Linked DNA regions of Homo sapiens: region 2 is linked to region 1. Evidence: promoter capture Hi-C in human tissues and cell types (Jung and others, 2019). All regions are on one chromosome and are shown on one strand. Each heading gives the region's core, a stretch centred on a gene start or on the middle of the fragment in contact. The rest is flanking DNA. Distances are from core to core; before and after follow the strand shown. Region 1 holds the start of MCM10 (minichromosome maintenance 10 replication initiation factor). Region 2 overlaps SEPHS1 (selenophosphate synthetase 1).

Region 1 (6,508 bases), core at 633-3,132:
AGTATACATTTTTCTAGGCTCTTATTTAACTTACATGTGCTCTTTGGCAAGTTCAATGTCAAGGAACTAATTACAGTGATTATGGTACTTTCTTTTCTTTTTTTAGACAGGATCTCGCTCTGTCGCTGGGGCTGGAGTGCAGTGGTGCTATTGGCTCACTACAACCTCCGCCTCCCAGGCTCCAGTGATTCTCCTGCCCCAGCCTCCCAAGTAGCTGGGATTACAAACGTGCACTACCACACCCGGCTAATTTTTGTGTTTTTTGTAGAGACAGGGTTTCGCCATGTTGCCCAGGCTGGTCTTGAACTCCTGATGTCAAGTGATCCATCAGCCTTGGACTCCCAAAGGTGCTTTTTTTTTTTTTTGAGACGGAGTCTCTGTCACCCAGGCTGGAGTGCAATGGGGCGATCTTGGCTCACTGCAAGCTCCGCCTCCCGGGTTCACGCCATTCTCCTGCCTCAGCCTCCCGAGTAGCTGGGACTACAGGCGCCCGCCACCACGCCCGGCTAATTTTTTGTATTTTTAGTAGAGATGGGGTTTCACCGTATTAGCCAGGATGGTCTCGATCTCCTGACCTGGTGATCCGTCCGCCTTGGCCTCCCAAAGCGCTGGGATTACAGGCGTGAGCCACCGCGCCTGGCCGCTTTTTAAAAATTCATTCAACCAACATTTCCACGGATCCCTCATGTGCCACACACTGTGCTATCTACTGGGGAACCTATTGGACAGTAAGCTTCCTGAGCGTTAGGAGCAAACTGTCTCGTTCAAGTCTGTAACCGGCCTTGCCTTCCCCCAAAATGAAACTGTGCACCCTCCCTCGCCCTCAAATCCACGGCCACTGACAAGTACTGTGGTCCCATCTCCAAAACACTGCTCAAATCTGCCACTTCTCTCCAACTTCACTGCCAGAACCCTAGGCCAAGCCACCGTCAACCTTTAACCCAATGACTGTGTTAGCTTTCTATGTTGGTCTCTTTGTCCCCGTGCAATCTGTTCTGCATACGACAGCCACGGTAATCTTCCCTTTCCTTAGTAACCTTTAGGAACATAAATCAGATCATGGGGGTCCCTTCATTGAAATTCTTTAATGATTTTCCATTGCCCTTAGAAAAAATCTACAAAGCCTGCGAGGCAATGATTCATATTCTCTCTCTCTTTCCAAGCTTTCTACTCCCTCACATTTTCCACAATCCACCACGTCCAATTCTACCCACCCCGACACCCATAACGATGCTCCAGCCGGGCCAGCCCGCTTCCACCTTCTGGAACACACTAAGCTGCTTTGAGGTCTCAGGCTCTGTCGAAGAAAGCTCCCCCCAGGTCCTTCTCGCCCTTCGGTCTCCACTTACTCATCTTTCTGAGACTTTCTGGACCACCCTGAGTCGTCCACTGTCGTGCATTTGTTTACTACCTGCTCGTGCCTTTAAACTGTAAGCGCTGTGAAGGCAGCGGAAATGTGATCCGAGCCATGCACACCGTCCGCATTCAATAATCATTGGCAAATCATGAATACGAGAAACCAATGAATGAATGAATGAATGAATGAATAAAAGAAAGCCCAGGCGGCAGGCACTTGGCAAGCACTTAAAAGGCTGCGTTTAAAAGGAAGAACCCGATTCCTTAGTAGACGGCCAGCAACTCCCAGCCCCCGGCCCGGCCATGCCAGCTCCGAGCGGTCCCAAGCTGCCGCCAAATCCAGATCGCGCCCACCCGAGCTCCCGGGACCCCGCGCCTCTAGCCTCGGACCCCTTGCAACCCGCGCAGAGACGTGCGAGGCGGCCCCGGCCCCGCCGCCCGAGGGTCACACGCACGCCCGGGGCCCGCGCTCCTCACCCGATGCCGGGACGCCTTCTTCGTTCACAGCTGAACCCGCCAAAATTCCAACCGGATCCCGCCCCTGCCTTGACGTCAGACGCACGCGGCTGTGGGGCAGCACTGACTGGCTACGCCAGCGAATCCCGGCCCTGGCACAGAGCAATCGGATTGGTTTACGTCATTGGACGCCCTCTTTGTTGGGGGCAAGGGACCTTCCTGTCGGTAGAAGCCAGTCTCCTTTAGGTAAAATAGAGTGTCTGGCGCCCCCTGGTGCCGGGAAGTTTAAGTCATCCCACCCAGTATTTTCCCTGCGGTCCCATCCCACCTCAACTCCTGACGCTCTGGGACCGACTGTTCCTTTGTCAGCCTTATGTCCATTCGAAATGTTTGGGCTCAGGACCAAACAGATCCGGTCCACTTTTACCCTGTCTGACCTTGGGGAAGTGACTTATCTCTCTGAGTTTCCCCTTCACCATCTGTGCAGTGAGGGAAAGGGTAGATGACATCTTTTACACTGAAACCACCATTTCCCGAGTAATTCCTGTTCCATAGATTTTGGGACTTCTAAGGGGCGTCAGGGCTGAAGAGAACTTATCAGCAGACCATATCTTTCACAGATTTTTTTTTCAGTAAAATTCAGGCCTCTTTATGTATTTACATTCTAAAAAATAGTGTTTGTACATAATACTAAGAACATAGTTTCTAAATGCAGAATAACATTTAGCTTTTACATAATTTCAAGGGATTGATAGCAGAAGAGACTTTGATGGACCAAATGGCCACTTTAAGTCTTTCCCCCCTTTTCCTCCTTGCAGACACTGTTCAGGCACTGCAGTTCCCCCACTAATAATCCCTTTGGTATAAGATCCTATCTCTATCCACTACGTACTTTCATTTTCAGAACAATTAAAATCGACTTTAGGAAGACTGAAGATAAACAGTCCTGATGCCATCTACGTTGACTTTTTTCTGTGTCCTAATGGAATATTACTGCTCCATTTATGAGCTCAGCCCTATTACTTAAACCTATATTGGCTCAGGAATAGGAATACAACCATTTCTGAGAGCTGCTAGTGTTAAAAATTCATAGTAATGGAGGAACTCTAGTAATCAAATTGAAAAAGTATGTTTAAATGCGTACTTTTAAACATACGGCACTAAGGCCGGGCACGGTGGCTCACCCCTGTAATCCCAGCACTTTGGGAGGCCGAGGTGGGTGGATCACGAGGTTAGGAGTTCGAGACCAGCCTGGCCAACATGGTGAAACCCCATCTCTACTAAAAACACACACAACACAAAAATTAGCTGGGCGTAGTGGTGCGCGTCTGTAATCCCAGCTACTTGGGAGGCTGAGGCGGAGAATCGCTTGAACCTGGGAGGTGGCGATTGCAGTGATGAGCCGAGATCTCGCCACTGCACTCCAGCCTGGCGACAGAGCCAGACTCTGTCTAAATAAATAAATAAATAAATAAATAAATAAATAAATAAATGCATCACTACATCTAGTTATTAAAAAAAAAAGATTCGTCATAGATTTATTCTTAGCCATTATGCAGAAATTCCTTGACTAATTCTGATCAGTACTCTGAAGTTCTTTTCTTCACCTTCACTTTCCAGGTCCTCTTTGCATCCAGTTCCGGGCAAGGAGTCAGAAACAGAACCAACCTAAGCCCGCAAACCTTCCTTAAGTGAAGAATCAAGCACTTTTTATTGGAATTAGTATAGTGGTGACTTTGAGAAAAGAAGTGGAGGTGATTTTGAGAAACAATTAGGCAAATAGATTTTTTAAAATCCATTGAATGTGGCTTTTCCGTGCCGATAGCGCTCACACAAACATTACGAAGTTTCCTAAAACCCGCCAGACTTTCTATAAGAAGTGTGGCAAGCACCAACCCCACAAAGTGACACTGTACACGAAGGAGAAGGATTCTCTGTATGCCCAGGGAAAGCGGCGTTATGACAGGAAGCAGAGTGGCTATCGTGGGCAAATTAAGCCGATTTTCCAGGAAAGGGCTAAAACTACAGAAAATTGTGCCAAGGCTTGAGTGCGTTGAGCCCAGCTGCAGCTCTAAGAGAGTGCTGGCTATTAAAATATGCTAGCATTTTGAACTGGGAGGAGGTAAGAAGAGAAACGGCCAAGTGATCCAGTTCTAAGTGTCATGTTTTCTTTTATTATGAAGACAATAAAATCTTGAGTTTATATTTTTAAAACATCCATTGAATGTGGAGATATTAGCGAGAAGGAAGCAGAGAGGGGATGGGGAGACAGGTTTAGGATGACTGTTAGGTTTCTGATTTATACAATAGGGTCGTTTTTGAGGTTGTGCACTGAAGTAGGAGACATAGGAAGAACGGAACAGGTTTAGGGGAGAAGATAGATTTAGTTTTCTATTTCAGAATGAGATGTATGAGAGATGCTGATTAAGAAAGGCACGGTAGCCAGCTTGATCTCCAGATCTGGGGTTCTAAGGAGAGGCCTGGACTCTCCTTAGAATACAAACGAAGGCCAAAAAAGAACAGCTCTGACAGTTATCAACATCTATCTAAAATGAAATCTAAAGCAAACAGCCCATATTGCAGTGGTCCTTAACCTTTTTTGGGCGGTAGGAGGATGTTTATCACAGACCCCTTTAATGTATTAAAAGTGGGCCGGGCACGGTGGCTCATGTCTGTAATCCCAGGACTTTGGGAGGCCGAAGCTGGCAGATCACCTGAGGTCAGGAGTTCGAGACCAGTCTGGCCAACATGGTGAAACCTCATCTCTACTAAAAAAAATGCAAAAATGAACCGGAAGTATTGGCGCATGCTTGTAATCCCAGCTACGCGGGAGGCTGAGGCAGTAGAATCGCTTGAACCCGGAAGACGGAGGTTGCAGTGGGCCGAGATCGGCCACTGCACTCCAGCCTAGGCAACAAGAGCAAAACTCCGCCTCAAAAAAACAAAAAACAAAAAAAAACACAAAAAGTCCAAGCCGAGCCCTTCCTGCTCCCTCTAGGAATCAAAATGGCGGCGAGGGAAAACTGGAGCAGTCCCGGAGCCTGAGCCACTGACAGGAGAGGAGAGGGCGGCGGCGGCGGTGGGAGGAGGATGGCGGCGGTGTGCTGGCGCCGGTGCCTGCCGCGGTGCTGGTGGCGGAGGCGGCGGGGGCGACGGCCGAGGTCCCTGCGGCAGCAGCAGCAGCGGCGGCGGGAGGAGCCTCCAGGTCGATTGAACTGTGGATGAGGAACCTACGGAATACGAAGGGCAGACTGTATAGTAAACACTTGAGGATGCTTGCTGTGTGGTTCTTACAGAATGCACTGTCCGTGTGTCTGGCTGCCCACAGCCTTTCATACTTCAATAGTATGCACTAAAGTAAGGTCTAATGGCCCTGTTCTCATAGAAATAGATGGAAAGAGGCTGCTGGATCCAGGGTTGAAGGTTCCTAATGGCCTCTAGGATTATACTCTGAAGAACCCGCAGACGGAATGCCTGAATGACTGAAGAAAATGGGTGCTAATGCATCTCATTATCCTCATCCATGTTCCGCGAAGGTAGGGGGAAATTCACAGGCCCAACAGACTTTTATAGGGACGTCATCCTATTCTCAGCAAGGCTATGGTTGTGAATCAAAATTGTATAGCCTTGACCATGGCCATGAGAAACCACAAGACAAAAAAAAGAGGCCGGGCACGGTGGCTCACGCCTGTAATCCCAGCACTTTGGGAGGCCGAGACGGGCGGATCACGACGTCAGGAGATCGAGACCATCCTGGCTAATATGGTGAAACCCTGTCTCTACTAAAAAATACAAAAAATTAGCCGGGCGTGGTGGCGGGCGCCTGTAGTCCCAGCTACTCGGGAGGCTGAGGCAGGAGAATGGCGGGAACCTGGGAGGCAGAGCTTGCAGTGAGCCGAGATCGAGCCACTGCACTCCAGCCTGGGCGACAAAGCCAGACTGTCTCAAAAAAAAAAAAAAAAAAAAAAAAAAAAAAAGACCTCTGGCCCTGCTACCTTCAAAAAGAACTTAATTAAGCCTCGAAAATCTGATAGGTCTGCCGATCATGCCAAGCAGATGCGAGAACTCCTCTCTGGGTGGGATATTAGAGATGTCAATGCATTAGCGGAGGAATATGAGGGAAGGTCAGCATTAAAGAAGCTTTCCCTACAAGCCAGTTTGGCTAGACCGGAAGCCCGGACATTGCAGAAAGATATGGCTGATCTTTATGAGTACAAGTATCGTACTGATACAGATTTCATATTTCAAGAAACTTGTTATCCTGTTCATCGTGCCATTTTGGCAGCAAGGTGTCCATTTTTTAAATGCTTTCTTCCTCACCTGAGTATGGGGCAGAGATAATAATGGACATCAATACAGCTGGTATTGATATGCCCATGTTTTCTGCTTTGTTATACTATCTTTATACAGGAGAGTTTGGAATGGAAGACTCAGGGTTTCAAAATGTCGTTATCCTTGTTCAGCTTAGTGAAGAATTCCCTTGATGTAGATATGCGTGGACTCTTTGATTACATGTGTTATTACGATGTCGTCCTTAGCTTTTCTTCAGACTCTGAACTGGTTGAAGCTTTTGGTGGACATCAGAACTGTTTAGATGAAGAGCTCAAAGCCCACAAGGCTGTTATTTCTGCACGGTCCCCATTTTTTCAAAATTTATTACAAAGGAGAATACCAACTGTTGAAGAAATCACAGATG
Region 2 (6,331 bases), core at 2,170-4,669, 160 kb before region 1:
TGACTACAGACCGTCTTCTCCTGGTACCAGGTTGGCATTCCATAGATCACTGCAGATGGTCCCTGACTTACAGTGCTTTATAATTAAGAAGGAAGTCCTAACTTCTGACATACCAGAGGAACTATTTCTAGAAAGCGTTTGTGTGGGTTACCTATGTAAGATTTGGAAGCAAACCATTCAGAATGGAAATTTAGAAAGTTTAAGATACTGGAGCTATTTCCAGAACATAACCTTGGAAGTCTAGAAGTGCCCCCACTCCCACCCATCCCCTGCATTCCTGCTTAGGTGTAACCACTGAATTTTGTGTTTATTTTCTTGCATTTTAGAATATTTTTATTGCACAGCCCTTGTGTTCTTAAGCAGCAAATTAGTTTTGCATTTTTTTTACTTGTTTTGTTCACCATTGTTCCTGAGAGTCTCCTTGTTATATGTAGCTGTAGTAGATTCCTTTTGGCTGTGTTGATTTTTCCACTGGCTTCTCTGCTCTCCTGTTTCACACTGGGGCGACTGCTATGGACTTCCTTGGCCCAGCCCTCTGAGGCACGTGTAAGAGATCAGTACTGGCTCAGCTTTTATAGATAGTGCCAAACTGTCTTCCAAAGTGTTCACCACAGTTTACAATGGCACACTATGTTTAGAAAGCGTTTTTTAATATGTCTTCTCTTCCCATTTATTTTATACATTTTTTCTACTATAAAAGAATTACATGCTTATTATAGAAAAGTTTTTAGAAAATGGAAAATAGTACAGAAAAAAGTTGTCCATAGTCCCTCCACCCAAAACAGCTCCGGCTAGCATTTTTATGTATTCTTCCAGGACTTTTTTTCATGTTTGGCTGGTGATTTACTATTGTTGTTTTAAAGTAGTGGTTAGTATAAGTTTTCACTATGTAATGGTTAGTATATGTATTTGGAGTGCCTGCTTTTGTTGTTTTGACATGACTAATGTTTCCCATATTATGTATCCTAGTAAACTTTTTTTTTTTTTTTTTTTTTTTTTTTGAGACAGAATCTAACTCTGTCGCCCAGGCTGGAGTCCATTGGTGTGATCTCGGCTCACTGCAACCGCTACCTACCAGGTTCAAGCAGTTCTGTTGCCTCAGCCTTCCCAGTAGCTGGGACTACAGGCACGCATCATCACCATGCCCGGCGGATTTTTGTATTTTTGGTAGAGACAGGGTTTCACTATGTTGGCCAGGCTGGTCTCGAACTCCTGACCTCAGGTGATCTACCCTCCTTGGCCTCCCAAGGTGCTAGGATTATAGGCGTGAGCCATAGTACACATAATTTTTAATGACTAGATAATGTTCTACCAGAGAAATGTACCACAATTATCTTTTACCTATTGTTTTACAATTCATTTGGAAATAAAAATTTTCTGTAATTTGTTGTTACTTGTAAGAAAGTTATAGCCAGGCACAGTGGCTCACACCTATAATCCAGCACTTTGGGAGGTTGAGGCAGGAGGATCACTTGAGTCCAGCAGTTGGAGACCAGCCTAGGCAACATAGTGAGACCCCATCTCGTCTCTTTAGCTGCGCCTGGTGCATTCCTGTAGTCTAAGCTACTCGAGAGGCTGAGGTGGGAGGATTACTTGAGCCCAGGATGTTGAGACTGCAGTGAGTGGTGATCATACCCCTACGCTTCAGCCTGGGTGACAGGGTGAGATCATGTCTCAAAAAAAAAAAAAAAGTTATAGATCAGAGGAACAGAATAGAGAATCCAGAGGTAGGTCCATATTATAGTCAACTGATTTTTTTTTTTTTTTTGAGATGGAGTTTTGCTCTTTCGCCCAGGCTGAAGTGCAGTGGCAGGATCTTGGCTCACCGCAACCTCCGCCTTCCGACTTCAAGTGATTCTTCTGCCACAGCCTCCCAAGTAGCTGGGATTATAGGCGCCCGCCACCACGCCTGGCTAATTTTTGTATTTTTAGTAGAGATGGGTTTTCACCATGTTGGCCAGGCTAGTCTTGAACCCCTGACCTTGTGATCCGCCTGTCTCGGCCTCCCAAAGTACTGGGATTACAGGCGTGAGCCACTGCACCTGGCCTAGTCAACTGATTTTTGACAAAGGAGTAAAGGCAATTCATTGGAGAAAAGAGTCTTTTCACCAAATGGTGCTGGAACAAGTGGACATTCACATGAAGAAAATTATTCTGGATGCAGATCTTATACCTTTCGTGAAGATTAACTCAAAATGAATGTTTAGTGTGTTTTCACACTGCTATAAATAGCCAAGACTGGATAATTTATTTATTCATTTATTATTATTATTATTATTTTTTTTTTTTTTTTTTGAGACTGAGTCTCTTTTTTTTTTTTTTTTTTTTTTTTTTTTTTTTTTTTTTGAGACGGAGTCTCGCTGTCGCCCAGGCTGGAGTGCAGTGGGGTGATCTCGGCTCACTGCAACCTGTGCCTCTCAGGTTCAAGCGATTCTCCTGCCTCAGCCTCTGGAGTAGCTGGGATTACAGGGCGCACGCCACCACACCCCACTAATTTTGGTATTTTTAGTAGAGACGGGGTTTCACCATGTTGGTCAGGCTGGTCTTGAACTCCTGACCTTGGCCTCCCAAAGTGCTGGAATTGCAGGCGTGAGCCACCATGCCCAGCTGACTGGGTAATTTATAAAGGAAAGAGGTTTAATTTACTCACAGTTTCACATGGCTGGGGAGACCTCAGGAAACTTACAGTCGTGGCAGATGGTGAAGGGGAAACAGGCACCTAGGTTCTTCATGAGGCAGCAGGACAGAGAAGAGCAGGGGAAACTGCCACTTACAAAACCATCAGATCTCATGAGAATTCATTCACCCTGACGAGAACAGCACGAGGGAAACCGCCCTCATGATTCAGTCACCTCCCACCAGGTCCCTCTCTTGACATGTGGGGATTACAATTCGAGATGAGATTTAGGTGGGGACACAGAGCCAGACCATATTGATGATTCGTAGACCTAAATAAAACACAACAATATAAAACTGGAAGAAGGTAACATCAGAGAAAATTGAGGTGGCTTTGGGTTTGGTGATGACTTTATAACACCAAAAGCACTATCTATTAAAAAATTGCTAAGTTTGGCTTTATTAATATAAAAAACTTCTGCTCGGTGAAAAACACTGTTAAGGAAATGAAAAGACAAGCCACAGACTGGGAGAAAAATTTTGCCAAACACATACCTGTTCAAGGTCAGGTATCCAAAATATACAAAGGACTCTTAAAACTCAATAATAAAAAACAACTCAATTTAAACATGGCCCAAAGACCTTGACAGACACCATGAAAGAAGATAACGCAGATGGCAAATAAGCATAAAAGGAAACCTTCAGTGTGGTACGTCAATAGGGAACTGTAGATTAAAGCAGTGATTGAGATGCCACCACATACCTGTTAGAATGGCTAAAATCCAAAACACTGAGAATAGCCTGGGCAACATGGTGAAACCCCATCTCTACCAAAAAAATACAAAAAATTAGCTGGGCATGGTGGCTTGCGCCTTAGTCCCAGCTACTTGGGAAGCTGAGGTTGGGAGGATCCCTTGAGCCCAGGAGGTCGAGGCTGCAGTAAGCTGTGATCGCACCACCTCACTCCAGCCTGGGTGACAAAGCGAGACCCTGTCTCAAAAAAAACCCAAAAACACTGATAATACCAACTGCTGGCAAGGATGTAGAGAAACAGGAAGGAACTCTCATTTATTACTGGTAGGACTGAAAACTGGCACAGCCACTTTAAAAGTCAGTTTGGCAGTTTCTTATGAAACTAAATATGTTATTATATGATGCAGCGATTGTGCTCCTTGATATTCACTCAAAAAAGTTGAAAACTTACATTCACACAAAAGCCTGCAGACAAATGTTCATAGCAGCATTATTCATAATTGCCAGAACTTGGAAGCAGCCATTCATTTCTTCAGTAGGTGAGTGGATGAATGGATAAACAAAATGTAGTGTATCTGTATGATGGAATATAATTGAGCAGTAAAAAGAAATGAGCTATCAAGCCATGAAAAGATGTGGAGGAATCTTAAGTGCATATTACTAAGTGAAAGAAGCCAGTCTGAAAAAGCTCCATACAGAAGGATTCCAACTGCATGACATTCTGCAAAACTGTAGAGATGCAGAAAGGATCAGTGGTGGCCAGAGGTTATCGGAGAGGAAGGGGATCAGGTAGAGCAGAGCACTGAGGATTTGTTACTTCCCACTTAATTTCTTTCTAAACGCAAAACTGCTCCAAAAAATAAAGTCTGTAAATTTTTTTAAAATTAAATAATAGGTCGGGTGAATGGATAATTAAATAATAGTAGGTGAGTGGATGAATGGATAAACAAAATGTAGTGTATCTGTAGTATGGAATATTATTGAGCAGTGGCTCACACTTGTGATCCCAGCGCTTTGGGAGGCTGAGGCAGGACGATTGCCTGAGCCCAAGTGCAGTGAGTTATGATCATGCCACTGCACTCCAGCCTGGTCAATAGAGCAAGACTCTGTCTCTTAAAAAAAAAAAAAAGAAAGAAATTTAAAAATAAACTTGCACGCAATTCACCTTTCGCGGGAGTACCTTGATACTGAGCAAGGCCTTCTTAAAAAGTGCTGGTCTTGGCCGGGTGTGGTGGCTCACATCTGTAATCCCAGCACTTTGGGAGGCCAGGGCGGGCGGATCATGAGGTCAGGAGTTCAAGATCAGCCTGGCCAATATGGTGAAACCCTGTCTCTGCTAAAAATACAGAAATTAGCTGGGCGTGGTGGTGCGCACCTGTAGTCCCAGCTATTCAGGAGGCTGAGGCAGGAGAATCACTTGAGCCCTGGAGGCAGAGGTTGCAGTGAGCCGAGATCGTACGACTGCACCCCAGCCTGGATGACAGAGCGAGACTCCATCTCAAAAAAGGAAAAAAGTGCCGGTCTTTGGTTTTAGGATGGTCTTGGCCGGTTTACCTTCCACTGAGATCATAATCCCTCTGCATAGTTTTTTTAGTTTACTGGAAAACTACTATTAATTGAAGCTTCTGATAGTTTTCAGGTGGCTCAAAGTGAAATAAGAACTTTTGGAATTTCACTATGTCTTTGGTTGATTTTACATTGCGTTTTCATTATTCCGATACGTCATCTCCCTGACAAGTAAGGAAGTTGCAGATTAATTGTGGACGTAAGATTTTTGAGTTGAGGAAAGGTGTTTTTTCTCAGAGCCGCCCCCTCTCTCTCCCAGCTGCAGGACTCATGCACACGTTCAATGCCCACGCCGCCACTGACATCACGGGCTTCGGGATTTTGGGCCATGCGCAGAACCTGGCCAAGCAGCAGAGGAACGAGGTGTCGTTTGTAATTCACAACCTCCCGGTGCTGGCCAAGATGGCTGCGGTGAGCAAGGCCTGCGGAAACATGTTCGGCCTCATGCACGGGACCTGCCCGGAGACTTCAGGTACAGGATGCTGGGCGCATCTGAGGACTAAATAGTGAGGCTAACAGAAAGCTCAGCGAGAAAGCAGCAGCCCCACCCCGAGTGGGCCCCCACTCTGTTCGAGTTCCATGCTGCTGACCTCGGCCTCCGCAGCAGCTGGTGCCTTTCCTCCTCCCGGTGGGTCTGGTCCCCGCCATCCTGGGTGGATCCAGCAGCCTTGCTGAGGTTGAGTGGCCTGTGCTCTTTTTGATGCAAGGATATGGTGATGGGGGAAATAAGGTAGCATTCAGTTTTTACTGAAAGCTTCGCATTTGAAATTAACTGTAATACCCCTAGGTTACTTTGAACAGGTGATATTTTTTTCCTTGAAAATTGTCTAACGTTGTTTTAAGAATGATAGAGAGAAAAGGGGCCAGGTGTGGTGGCTCTTGCCTGTAATACTGGCACCTCAGGAGGCTGAGGCAGGCACATCACGTGAGATCAGGAGTTGAAGACCAGCCTGGCCAACATGGTGAAACCCCATCTTCACTAAAAATACAAAAAAAAAGTAGCTGGGCGTGGTGGTCCATGCCTTTAATCCCAGCTGCTTGGGAGGCTGAGCCAGGAGAATCACTTGAACCTGGGAGACAGAGGTTGCAGTGAGCCGAGATTGCGCCACTGCACTCCAGCCTGGGTGACAGAGCGAGATTCTGCCTTAAAAAAAAAAAAAAAAGAAAAGAGAATGATACAGAATAAAAAAGAATGCAATAGGATATTATGTCTTTAAAATGCCATTTTTCTTTTTTCTTAGATGTGCAGTAATTTATTAGAGGAAACATAAATGGAGGATAAACGGGAGATGGAGCAAGCGTAGGTAGAGAGAGCCATCAGACAGCAGTGCAGGTCTGACACCATACGCCCCAGTAGTTTGACTCCTAGGGAGCTTTTATATCCCTTATCATTTTT

The links. The method cuts DNA at HindIII sites, captures the fragments that hold promoters and counts their contacts. A contact is called where the count stands out against the background at its distance.
Region 2: a fragment that was not itself captured here is called in contact with the fragment with the promoter of MCM10 in region 1 in 1 of the 25 tissues and cell types used here (liver).

What each region holds. Positions count from the first base shown.
Region 1 is chr10:13,156,932-13,163,439 of GRCh38, reverse strand. It overlaps MCM10 (minichromosome maintenance 10 replication initiation factor), which reads right to left and starts at 1,882. Exons shown (of 20, transcript NM_018518.5): 1 at 1,834-1,882. It also overlaps the pseudogene BTBD7P1 and the pseudogene RPL36AP36. RefSeq lists silencers at 1,618-1,797, 1,820-2,133. The HindIII fragment of the contact is 5,218 bases long and covers 949-6,166 here.
Region 2 is chr10:13,321,911-13,328,241 of GRCh38, reverse strand. It overlaps SEPHS1 (selenophosphate synthetase 1), which reads left to right. Exons shown (of 9, transcript NM_012247.5): 8 at 5,195-5,407. Among named protein-coding and RNA genes, the nearest start is that of SEPHS1, 23 kb to the left of the region's middle. The HindIII fragment of the contact is 3,843 bases long and covers 1,498-5,340 here.